Linked DNA regions of Homo sapiens: region 1 is linked to region 2. Evidence: promoter capture Hi-C in 16 types of primary human blood cells and fetal thymus (Javierre and others, 2016). All regions are on one chromosome and are shown on one strand. The core of a region is centred on a gene start or on the middle of the fragment in contact, and the rest is flanking DNA. Distances in the headings are between cores, read along the strand shown.

Region 1 (5,878 bases), core at 2,181-4,680, 1.1 Mb after region 2:
GACCTTATCTGATCCAACTTATCTCCCAAAGTCTTCATATCTAATCAAGATATGACTTTGGGAATTAAATTTCCAACATGGGAGACATATTCAAACAGTAACACACAGCAACCCGTTTTCGTTGCTGTTGTTATTGTTTGTTCTCTTTTAAGTTTATTTCTACAATTTCAATGCATTAACCCTGGATTACCTGTTTTGCCTCTGGCCTCTTGCTCCTGTATCAAACCCTGTTTCTTTTATATCTTAAACTGTTTGCTCCTTGTGCTAGTCTTAGCCCTGAAACTTGTTTTTCTATTTCCTGATCAAGCATGACCATCCACTTGAGCTGGTATATGCACAAATTTTAAAGGTTGCATAACATCCCAGGACTCGATATAAATGCTTTATATATTCTGTATCATTGAGAATTTTTATCTATATTTTTTACCACTGTAAATAATGGGGCAATAAATTTTCCTGTACATAAAATATGGCCTGCATCTCTGATATCTTCCTTTCAATAAATTCTTAGAAATGGAATATTATGGACATTTTAAGACAACAATATACTGGAAAATATGCTTCCAGAAAGTTCATGCAAACATTGTAAAACAATGCTTAGTCCACTGTAACACAGCAACACAACACTATGTATTATGTGTTTTAAAAAACATTTGCTGATTTGATAGCCAAGAATATTTTACTGTTTACCGTAGTAAATGTTGACAGTCAATAAATAAGACTTACTTCAAGTTCCTAGTGCAGAGTTTTCCTATGTCCAATTTGGTACTTCCTGTTTGGATTACCAAGTTTCAGAAACATTAATATGAAGTCAAATGACATCACAGACTATGATATGTTTCCTGGACTCAATGGAGTTAATATTAATGTATTAATAAGATGTGTTGCTGTATGATTTCATGGAGGAACATTGAACTCAAATTTTCAGAAAGTTTAGTTAAATTACCAGCTACTGTTCTGCTAGGCTGGCATGAGAATAGGGCAGTGAGAAGAGCCATATTTTGACGTAGTGTGCCAGTGTGTGTATTGGTGCTTTAACCAGTACACACACTAGTTTCATTTTCATGTACTAAGCTCTGGCACAGAATTTACATGGTACCACTATAGTAACTTTATTTTTCTTATAAGAGTAACATTCTTTCAACCATAAGAATAAAAATATGTGACTATTCCCAAATAGTTTCTGAGACTAATGGGAAAAGAGTCACAGCCCTACAATTTGCCCAACTTGGTAGAGAAAGTGTTTTCAAAGGTCTCAAGAAGTTTCCTGTGCGGAAACACAACAATAAAATACCTTTATGTGCAAGGAATAAGCATGCACAAGTGACAACCTGTTAACATTCAGTTTGGCACATCAGCATGCATGCAGGCTTTTGGGTGTAGATGACTCAAATTGAAAGTAGTGGTGAATGGATAGTCATGTGAAGACTGTTTAGAAAATGAGTTTTGAAAACTGAGAGGGTGTCAGATAGCCGAGGCTTTGAATACTACTTGTGCCATTTATAACTGAGAAACTTAGGTAAGTTACTTACACTCTAATTTTTGGTTTAAACATGGTTTAAGACATAAATCAAACTAATAATGGATTCTTCTACTGAATTTATTATTGTAGAGTTGTGTAAGTCAAAAGTTGACATGGATCTCACTGAGCTAAAATCAAGGAATCACCAGGCTGCATTTCTTTATGGAGGGGCTAGGGAAAAATCAATTATCTTCTTTTCTCCTTCTGGAGGCTTTCCACATTCCTTGGCTTGTAGCCTCCTTCTGCCATCTTCAAAGCCAGCAACAGTGGATCAAATCCTTCTCATGCTGCCATCTCTCTGGTTCTCTACTTTTAAAGACCCGTGTGACTATATTGGATCCACCCAGCTAATCCATCTAATCTTGCCATCTCAAGTTATTTAACTTTAATCACATCTGCAAAGTCCCTTTGCAATGTAAGGTGACATATTCACAGGTTCCAGGCATTAAGACATAGGTATCTTTAGGGGCCATTATCCTGTCTACCACAAACACTTGGCCTAGTATCATGGATGTAGAATGCATAATAAAATATTATTGTTCTTGTTATTTATTGTTTTTATTACATTATGAAGAAGAAAATATCTCAGGCCATGACATTTTCAGTAGTGAAACAGATTTGATAGTGGAGAGGAGATAATATCGGAAGCAGGGAGAATGGTTAGGAAACTACTGAAGTTACCCAAGTGAGAGATAATTGTGACTTAAATAAAGGTGACATTTCTGGAGATGATAAACAGTGATCAATTTCTGATTGTATTTTTCAAAGAGATTGACATAATTTACCAATGGATTAAATGCAGGGTGTAAGAGACAGAAACTGAGAATGAATCAAAGACCCATATGCCCAAGTGTGGTCCAAATTGGTGGGAATATCTAAGGATCTAAAGAGGCCATAAGGAGAAAAGATGGACAACTTATAGCAATCTATGCATTCTATTTATTAAAGACTAATGAGAGTGATAGTAAACTGACAGAAGGTGACATCATTGGCCAAGTCAATCACCCACCTACCTGCAATTTTTCTTGGTATAATACAAGATTTTCAAAATTTGACTATAAGTAGAGAGAACCCCAAATTATTGTGACTAATTCTCTTCAACCTGGTAGGTTGGGACTTCAAAATACGAAATAGGTCAAATTATAAAAAAGTAAATGAAACCGTATTTTATACACAAGTAAGTTGTGAACCAAGATTTTTACCTACTGTATTCACCAAGCATTTGGTTCATGCCTCTAGGATAACCTTATCATTGGTTAACATGTAATTATTGGTTAACCTGTCTATCTTCTACACTAAAATCCTAAACAGTAAGAATTATGGTGTATTCTTAAAAAAAAAAACTCTATCACTGAGTATAATGTTTAGAATATGGGACATTCTTATGAAATATTTACTGGATATATGTATGGATGAGTAAATGAATTATTTTTTATCTGTAAGAGAAAGACTGCTGCTGCAAAGAACCACAGGTGGGCTAATGAAACCATACTGCTGTGAATAATCATAGATACTGAGGAGTTAAGGGGTGGAGTTGGACTCTCACTCATAATGGGAGATGTCATTTAGCAATTTGCTACAATATTTCGTTTTTTAAAATCTCCTTCAGAGTGACTGCTAGTGATTATGAGGTTCCTTTTAAGGGTAATAAAAAATGTTCTAAAATTGAATTGTGATGATGGTTCTTGCACAGTTCTGTGACTTTACTAAAAAAAATTGAATCATACACTATAAATGGGTGAATTTTATAGTATGTGAATGATATAACAATAAAGCTGTTAAATAAAAAAGCTTTTGAGTGAAATGACACATGAAAAAAAGGTTACATCAGCCCATAAAGCACATAGCCACCGTAAGTAATTGCATAATGGAACAGATATAAAAGGACTGTATGAGGCAAAAGAAGTCTTCTGGGAATCTCCACACCCTGAAGACACAGTGAGTTAGCACCACCACCAGGAATTGGCCTTTCAGCTCTGTGCCTGTCTCCAGTCAGGCTGGAATAAGTCTCCTCATATTTGCAAGCTCGGCCCTCCCCTGGAATCTAAAGCCTCCTCAGCCTTCTGAGTCAGCCTGAAAGGAACAGGCCGAACTGCTGTATGGGCTCTGTAAGTAAAACTGTTTTGTTCAATGAAAATGCTTGACTCTAGATGAATTGGACTTTCTCACCCACAGGGAGTAATTTCCTCACAATGTGCAGAATTAGATTAGATGTTGGTATGGTGGGCTGAGGAGGACGGTAGAATTTCAGAATTATTTATTCCCAGGAAATACGTAGAGAATGGGTATTTCGTTCTGCCTGATATAGGTTAGATAACTTGTTTTTAGTCAAATGGTTTAATCAGTGTGCTGATATATTTATCACAGTCAGTGAATCTCATTTCTATGCCCAATAACTATTACTAAAAATGAAAAGTTACCAATTTCGAACGCATTGCCTGCCAGCTACTGGTATTAGACACAGCGCATATCCTGTCTTATAGATGAGGAAACTGGGTCACAGAAAGTTTATATTACTTGTAGATTTCAGTAAAACAATTGTTTTTGAGAGCACGAGCTTTGGAATTAAAAAGACCTGAGTTAAAAATTCAGCTCTGACTTTCACCAGTTGTATGTGATTTCAAATATGTTTCAGACTTCTGATACTCAGTGTCTTTACCAGAAAAATGAATTTAAAGTGAATCTAATAATACTTGTCACATGATGACATAGTAAGAATTAAAATAATGCTTATAAAGCACTGAGGACAATAATGTTCACAGAACACGTGTCCAGTAAATGGTAGCTATTTCTATGAGTAATATTTTTATTAATGGTGTAGATGGTCTCAAAACTAGTTAGTGTTTGAGCAAGAATCTGAACCCAGGTCAGTCACACATGATAGCCATACCATTGACAATAGCATGGAGAATACTGATGACACTATAAGGTCTAGTTCAGCAGATTAAGACAGCCACAAGCTATAGCTTATAATAGTGCAATGAAAGAGGAGCATCATTGTAATCCGAGTGGGCAGAAAAATTAGTTGAGAGAATATAGCTTATTTCACAAGAGAGAAAATGAAAGTATATATGGATTGGAGAGGATGGGTCGGAAAGATTCTAGAGTGAAGGCAGCACAAAAGAGAAGCTTGGGGGAAATTTAGTGCCTCCTTCTAAGGATATTCATTAGTCCCCCTCTTGTCTTGAATATAAACACTTAAGATTTTTTCAATGTAAGAAAAATGCAATGAAATAATAGCTGCAAATACCCACTACTAACAATTGCTTGGCCTTCTTATATAGACCTCCCGAGGTTCTCATCTTTTACATTTCAGGAGTAGAATCAGTTAAAAACTAATCTTTATATGTAAGGGATGAGAGAGAGAAAGAGGAGGGTATGTGTGTGCACACATGTGTGTGTGTGTGGTGGGTAGTAATTTTAATTCAATGATTTACTAGAGTTCGATGTCGTTTGCTGATAAATGAAGCAGGAGGAAGAGCCAGGTTTGGAGGGGACGAGAGAATGAGTTCCATTTGTCTCATATAGAAGTTGAAGTAACTGAGTGATGATGGGTAGAGATGTCCCTCAGGGGTAGCCACAGTATTTTATTTACTTTTTATTCACCACATGCAGCAAGGAGCTTTGTTCTCCAAAATGCTGTCAATTATTTTTCTAAATTACAGGTTTGATTGCTTCACTGTATTTTCATGTCTCATTACTACCTTTACGCTTAAAACCAGAAACTTTGCCACAGCGTTAAAGATTCTGCTAACTTTTAAAATACAGAACTCTGGAGATGCCATAATTAGATTGCAGATTTATGAGTCTTCTGGATATAAGTGCTATTTAAAGCCATGAGAATAACCAAGATATCTCAAGGAGAGCATATGAAAAGCAAGAAAAGAAGAGGTACTTCTTGGGAGAAAAGCAGACTCCTCTAGAATCCCACAATTTATAAGGCAGAGAACAAAACCATTGTTTAACAAACAGGAAAAAAAAAAACCTCACAGAATAACCATCACTGAAGCTAATGAAGGAGAAAGTTTCAAGGAGGAGGAGGTAAACATTGCTGAAAGTTGAGATGAGGGAGAGAAAAACAAATCTGAGATTAAACTTTTGGACTTGGCATGTAGAAAATCACGGGTGACATCATTTGGAGGATTTTCAGAGTCATTAGGGAAAGAATTCAGATTGTTACTGAAGGTGAAGGAATAATAAACAAAAGCAGACTGTTCTCCAAAGGAATTTTTATCCTTATAAAAGATACAGCAGGAAATTGAGAGAGAAACAGGGCTTATGTCTTGTATCCCTCACTATCAAAGCACAAGGCTAATTATGAAAACTATTCAATATATCCTGGTTGAAATGAATTGT
Region 2 (6,072 bases), core at 69-2,568:
AAGGGGGGATTATGTGTTCCCCAAAGCGGTGGGAAAAGAAGGAGAAGAAAGCTGGAGTATAGGAGAAAACAATGGCACAAATGTGGGCAGTGCAGGTATTAAAGGCCTTCTGCCGAGCATCTGCTGAGGAGAGGCTGACCACTGCCCGGAGAATCATGGTATAGGAGTTGGTGATACACAGTATGTCAAAGCCCCAAATCAGGAGGGCAACCATCAGACCATAGATGGCATTGACCTTGACATTACCACAGGACAATTTGGCTACAGACATGTGGTCACAGTAGGTATGGGGAAGTATATTGCCTCTGCAGTAGGGCAGGAGCTTGGTGAGGAAAGTAAAGGGAATAATGAGTAATACCCCTCTCAGGAAGGTGGCAGTCCCAACCTTTGCAATTACAGGATTGGTGAGGATAGTTGAATAGCGTAAGGGGTAGCAGATGGCCACATAGCGATCCAGGGCCATAAGCATAAGCACCCCAGACTCCATCCCTGTGAAGGTGTGGGTGAAGAACATCTGGACAAGGCATTCATCAAATCCAATGTCCTTGAGATGAAACCAGAAGATGCAGAGGGCTTTAGGGATTGTACTAGAGCACATAACAAGGTCAGTAAAGGAAAGCATGGCCAAGAAGTAGTACATGGGTTTGTGCAGGGCATCCTCATAGTGAATGAGGTAGAGGAGTCCACAATTCCCTACCATAGCCACAACATACATAGAGCAGAATGGGAAGGAAATCCAGAGTTGTGTGTCTTCCAGTCCTGGGACTCCATTCAGAATAAATGAAGCTGGTATTAGGTCTGTTTTATTCAGTGTTAGCATGATAAGTCTGGTAGGTTATGAAATAGCTCAAAATTTGTCTGGGCTTTCCTAGAGTTAAAAAAAAAAACAAGAGAAAATATAGGTTATTTTTACTGTCTCCCTCTCCCCCAACTTTTAAAAATTCCATAATGCATTTTAATGGTCCAACAACCAAATTTCTGAGTGCCAAGAAATAATTTTGTTTGTCTGTTTAGTTTTATTGATTGATTAATTAATTGATTCAGTAAAAAATTCTTATTGAGCAGTCTAAGTTTTCAACACAGATGCCAATCAAACATCAATTATTTTATAAAAAGACATATTCCCAATCTCATAGATTTATAATCAAGTATAATTCTGACTTTTCAAATGGTATTTTTATTAGAATATCTTACTTAACTATAACTATACTCATCTCAATATAGATATAATTTTAAAGAAGAGTCATTTGATTACCTCACTGATGATCTGAGAGATGAGATGTTGACTTTTTAATTTTTATTCTTAATGACTGACTGATATTTATTCTTGGGTACTCAGGCACTGTTCAAAGAATTTTGAAATTTTAATTAAATTATTACTCAATGAAGCTTGGGGTCTCAAAAATTAGTAAATTTATTGGGTGTCTATACTCAATAATAATTTAATTGTATATTTTAAAATAACTAAAATAATATAATTGGGTTGTCTGTAACACAAAGGATAAATGTTTGAGATGATGGATACCCCTATTTACTTTACTGGGATTTTTTTTTTTTTTTTTTTTTTTTTTTGAGGCAGAGTCTTGCTTTGTTGCCCAGGCTGGAGTGCAGTGGCGCAATCTTGGCTGCAACCTCCACCTCCCGGATTCAAGCAATTCTCCTGTCTTAGCCTCCCGAGTAGCTGCGACTACAGGCACATGCCACCACGCCCAGCTAATTTTTGTATTTTTAGCAGAGATGGGGTTTCACTATATTGGTCAGGTTGGTCTCCAACTCCTGACCTCAGGTAATCCACCCACATCAGGCTCCCAAAGTGCTGGGATTACAGGCATGAGCCACTGTGCCCGGCCCTTTAAAAGGGATTATTACACATTGTATGCTTCTATCAAAATATCTCATACACCCATAAATATATACACCTACTATGTGCCCACAAAAATTTAAAATTAAAAAAGTCAATGAAGTTTTGATTCAATTTTTTCACTTTTCAAGATATCTTTCTTGTTCTTTATGTATCTAGTCAACGCAAACTAGAAGATATCCAAATGCATACATACAGAAAATATATAAAGTACTTCAACAACATCAGTAAGAAAAAGTTGCAGGAAGAAACATACACTTCAAAAGAGAAATAAAATTGCCAATGAACAGGTAAATAGGCACAAACTTTTATATTAATCAGAAAAATAAGTAAAAATTGTATCTCTCATGACAAAGCACCTTTTTTTGGTATGTAGTGACATACCAAACAGGACAGCTAAAATGAAAAGAACTAAAAATACCAAGCATTGGCAAAGATGTAGAACAACTGGAACTCTCATTTACTGCTGGTAGACATGTAAATTAGAACAACTCTTTATTAGATATCTCATAATGATAAACATACACATGACCACCATTGCCATTTCCAACAAAACTATGTATATATATTTACTAGAATACATCAATTAGAATGCTTATTGAAACATGATTTGTAGTATAGCCTAAAACTGGAAAAAACCTAAATGTTCATCAACATCAAATGGGTAAATAAATTTTGGTACATTCCCACAATGAAATACCACGTAACAATAAGAATAAACAATCTATGACTATATGCATAATATAGACGAATCTCACAATATGTGTTAATTTTTTTTAGAAAGACTTAAAATAGATGTAACATCTTGTGATCTTTAAATGAAATACAAAAACGGATCAAATTATTCTGTGCTATTAGAAATAGAAAAATCTTTTTAAAAAGTGAGAGAGAGTGATAACTGAAAGGCAGTATGTGGTAGAAGGGTCCTGTTAGTTGCTGGTCATATTCCCTTACTTGATTTGGTTGTGAGATATACAAGATTCAGGTTGTAAAAATCAATCAACATGTAATTGGATTAATTGTAAAATTGCATATGTATGTTAGAATTTATAATAACAAAAATTAAATTGCCAAGAGGATTAAAGGACGTAATATGTTAAAACATGCTACCACATTTTAAGTGCTCAATACCCATATTTGTATTTTCTACTCAGGCTGGCAGCCATTTTGGCAATGCTTACAAAAATTAACACCATAGGAATCATGAGTGCCACCAAATGAACTCTCTTTTGTGCCCCATCAGAGGAGGTATTCATCCTAACCTCCATTAATAAAATACACTGTTTTAAGATTAGCATCTGATAGGAAGTACAGTCACATGTTCTGCCTTATTGGGTAAGATGAAGAGGACAGATCAGATTTATCAAAAGGCAACTTGTTTTGAAAATAGTAGAAAAACACAGGTTAAACTTGTTAATAGGCATGCTCCTCAAAGATATGTACTCAAGTCATTACAAAATGTCAGAGTTATACTGGGTGTCATAGGAGCACCTGTGTGTCTAACCTAGCCTCAGGAGATGCTCCTAGAGAAGAGGACAGATGCTTCCAGACCTGGAGCATGATTAGAATTCTGACAGGTCAAAGTGGTAGGAACAGCATTTTCTTCTGTTGCTGTTTGCTGTTTCCTACTCATATCGCACTGACATTCTCAGCTTTGTGATAGGCAAACCTCTATCTCCTTGGTGCTCCCTTTGCCCACTCCCCTCAAATGTAGCTAATCCCTATACATTCTTCAAGCAGAACCATCATCAGGAGGTCTCAAATGTCCTTTGGACATGATAGCGACCCATCCTTTAAATTATTTTAAGATAATGTAGCTACCAATAGCCTTGACTAGGGGTAAGAAATTGATTTGTTCAAACAATTATTCTCTTTAATAATATTTCCCTCATGATATTATGAAAATCAACTTATATTTAGGAATTCTCCAAAATTCAGTGAAATCACCGATGTAAGGACAGTGTCTGGTAAAGCATCCTCAGAGCCGAGCAAATCAAATCTCTCATATTAGATACTCAATAAATGTCAATTTTAAAATAAATAAACAAATAAGTAAATGAAAAAGTGAATGACTCACCCGAAACACTTTATTTTGATAATTATTAAATTATAATCTAAGTATTATTAGATTGGTGCAAACATAATTGCGGTTTTTACCATTAAAAGTAATGGCAAAGCCACAATTCCTTTTGCACCAACCTAATATTACTTGGAATGTATAAAAGAAACCACTAGAAGGAAAAAAAAGAGAAAGTTTTACTTAAGATTACTAGAAAAGCTAAACAACATAAGGCATCTCTCTCATAAAGTAGAGAAACAGAGAATACAAAGTGGAAAAAAAAAGATGACAAAGGCAGAACAAACATTGGTTTTGGATATAAAAATAATTTAAACTTCCCATCAAGTTGAAATAATTCCAACTAATTTTTAAAAATTATATATGCAGTATAAGATTTCATCAGAATGAAAATTATACACAAAGGTTTAAAAATATATACAAACATAATATTTTTAGATAAACAGTATACCTCATACTTAGGATATACTAATACTAGAAAAAAGAATTCAAAGCTAAAACACTCAAGTCAAGATCACTTTGAGAAGACAAAACGCTTAGCATTGTGTAATTAAAGGTAATTGTACCAAATTGTTTTTTTTCCAAGTTTGATAAGGTTTTTCTATAACACAAATAACGAAAAGCACTTAAATTCACATTCTCACTTTGTTGATATGGAGGGACAATGTTAATATGAGGACCTCCCAAAGTTACACTTACATTACATAGCAGCTTATAAACTCATTTTTAAATTTTTAATTAAGGTAAGTGAATGGTTCAAAAATTGAAATTTTAGCTTTGGAATTTTCAGAAGTATGTTAATTATTATTTTGTAAAAGCATAAAAGATAGTCTTCAATACATGAAATGTTTTTCTATGAACATCAAAATTACAGGATTCTGCCTTTCAGACAGAATTTATAAACTATGAATTTATATTTTATATTTGTAGTCACTATTATATTTTTCAGATTTTTTACATATACCTCATTTTTCAGATGTTTTACAATATATTATTAAGCAAAATAACTGACAGTGACAGTGGCAATAATCCATTTATAAAACTACTTTTTCAATAATTTATAAAAATTTAGTATAAACTATTCAATAGTGTCACGATTCTTTTCTCCATCTCACTTTAATATATTGAACAGTGTCTTATTAAATGTGATGCTCAGTGCTTGTTTTGGGCTATACATTGCTTTGTAAATAGCAGCTCAGGATGCACTTTTGCAGCTTTTCTTGGAGTTAAAGTGACCATTTCAAGTAATGGAAAATGCTATTTTTAATGTCTTAATGAATTATGTGTGGAAAGAACAATTACCTGGGTGGAGAAAAATATACTTGTAGATCTGTATTGAACCTGCACATATCCAAGTATGTGTTCATGGTTCCACTGCATGTGAAATAAGTATCCATGTGTTAGAAGTAGGTAGAGAAATTAGGGGAAGCATAAATATCTCCTAAACCGAAAATAGAATAATTTGCTTCTGAGATTACATGCACACTTGTATCTAAATACTAGATAAATATTTTATTAGTATTTCCTATATTTTCTTGTTTTCGGCATACCTTTAGTCACTAAAACTGGTTTTATGCTTACACAACAATTTAGGTCCCATCTTCAACACATTTACAAAGCTCTCCAAGAACTACATAACTATCTAAGTATTATTAATAAGTACAAACGTATGCAATTTTCTTCCTAAAACATTTAAAATAGTTTGTACACATCAAAGTTTAATTTCTTCTGCAAAGAAATTTGACTTTGCTATGCTGGGGTGTGGAAAGAGTCATTGGAAAAGTAATATTGATACATGTTATCTTCTATCTAACCTCATTCTTAAACTCTGTAGGCCAATAAATTTGTTTTGTTTTGTTTTGTTTTCGTTCAACCATCTCCAATCTAGTAGACCCAACTTCTCATATGAGGGTTGCTTGCTCCGTGTGGATTAGATTTTGCTACTGCAAACACATGAAACAAAAGTCCTATCTCAGTCTTTCCAGGAAATAACCAAGGAAAATTAGACTATGGTTTGGGGGAAGTAAAGGAGAGCAAGTAAGAAGCAAGAGTAATGGGTAAATATTCTCTAGCTAGTCTTTCATTTCTCCTTATTGTGGGGGTAATCCACACTTGACTTCCACCACTAGTAAAA

What was found. The method cuts DNA at HindIII sites, captures the fragments that hold promoters and counts their contacts. A CHiCAGO score of 5 or more calls a contact.
Region 1: the fragment with the promoter of OR51E2 here is called in contact with the fragment with the promoter of OR52N4 in region 2 in 1 of 17 cell types (M0 macrophages); the score reaches 5.6 in M0 macrophages.

The regions. Positions count from the first base shown.
Region 1 is chr11:4,695,405-4,701,282 of GRCh38, reverse strand. OR51E2 (olfactory receptor family 51 subfamily E member 2) reads left to right here and starts at 3,430. Exons shown (of 2, transcript NM_030774.4): 1 at 3,430-3,630. It overlaps OR51C1 (olfactory receptor family 51 subfamily C member 1), which reads left to right and starts at 3,430. Exons shown (of 2, transcript NM_001396051.1): 1 at 3,430-3,630. The coding sequence starts at 3,622. The HindIII fragment of the contact is 1,338 bases long and covers 3,316-4,653 here.
Region 2 is chr11:5,749,489-5,755,560 of GRCh38, reverse strand. OR52N4 (olfactory receptor family 52 subfamily N member 4) reads right to left here and starts at 1,318. Exons shown (of 2, transcript NM_001005175.5): 1 at 1,256-1,318; 2 at 1-868. The coding sequence starts at 820. The HindIII fragment of the contact is 4,248 bases long and covers 1-1,391 here.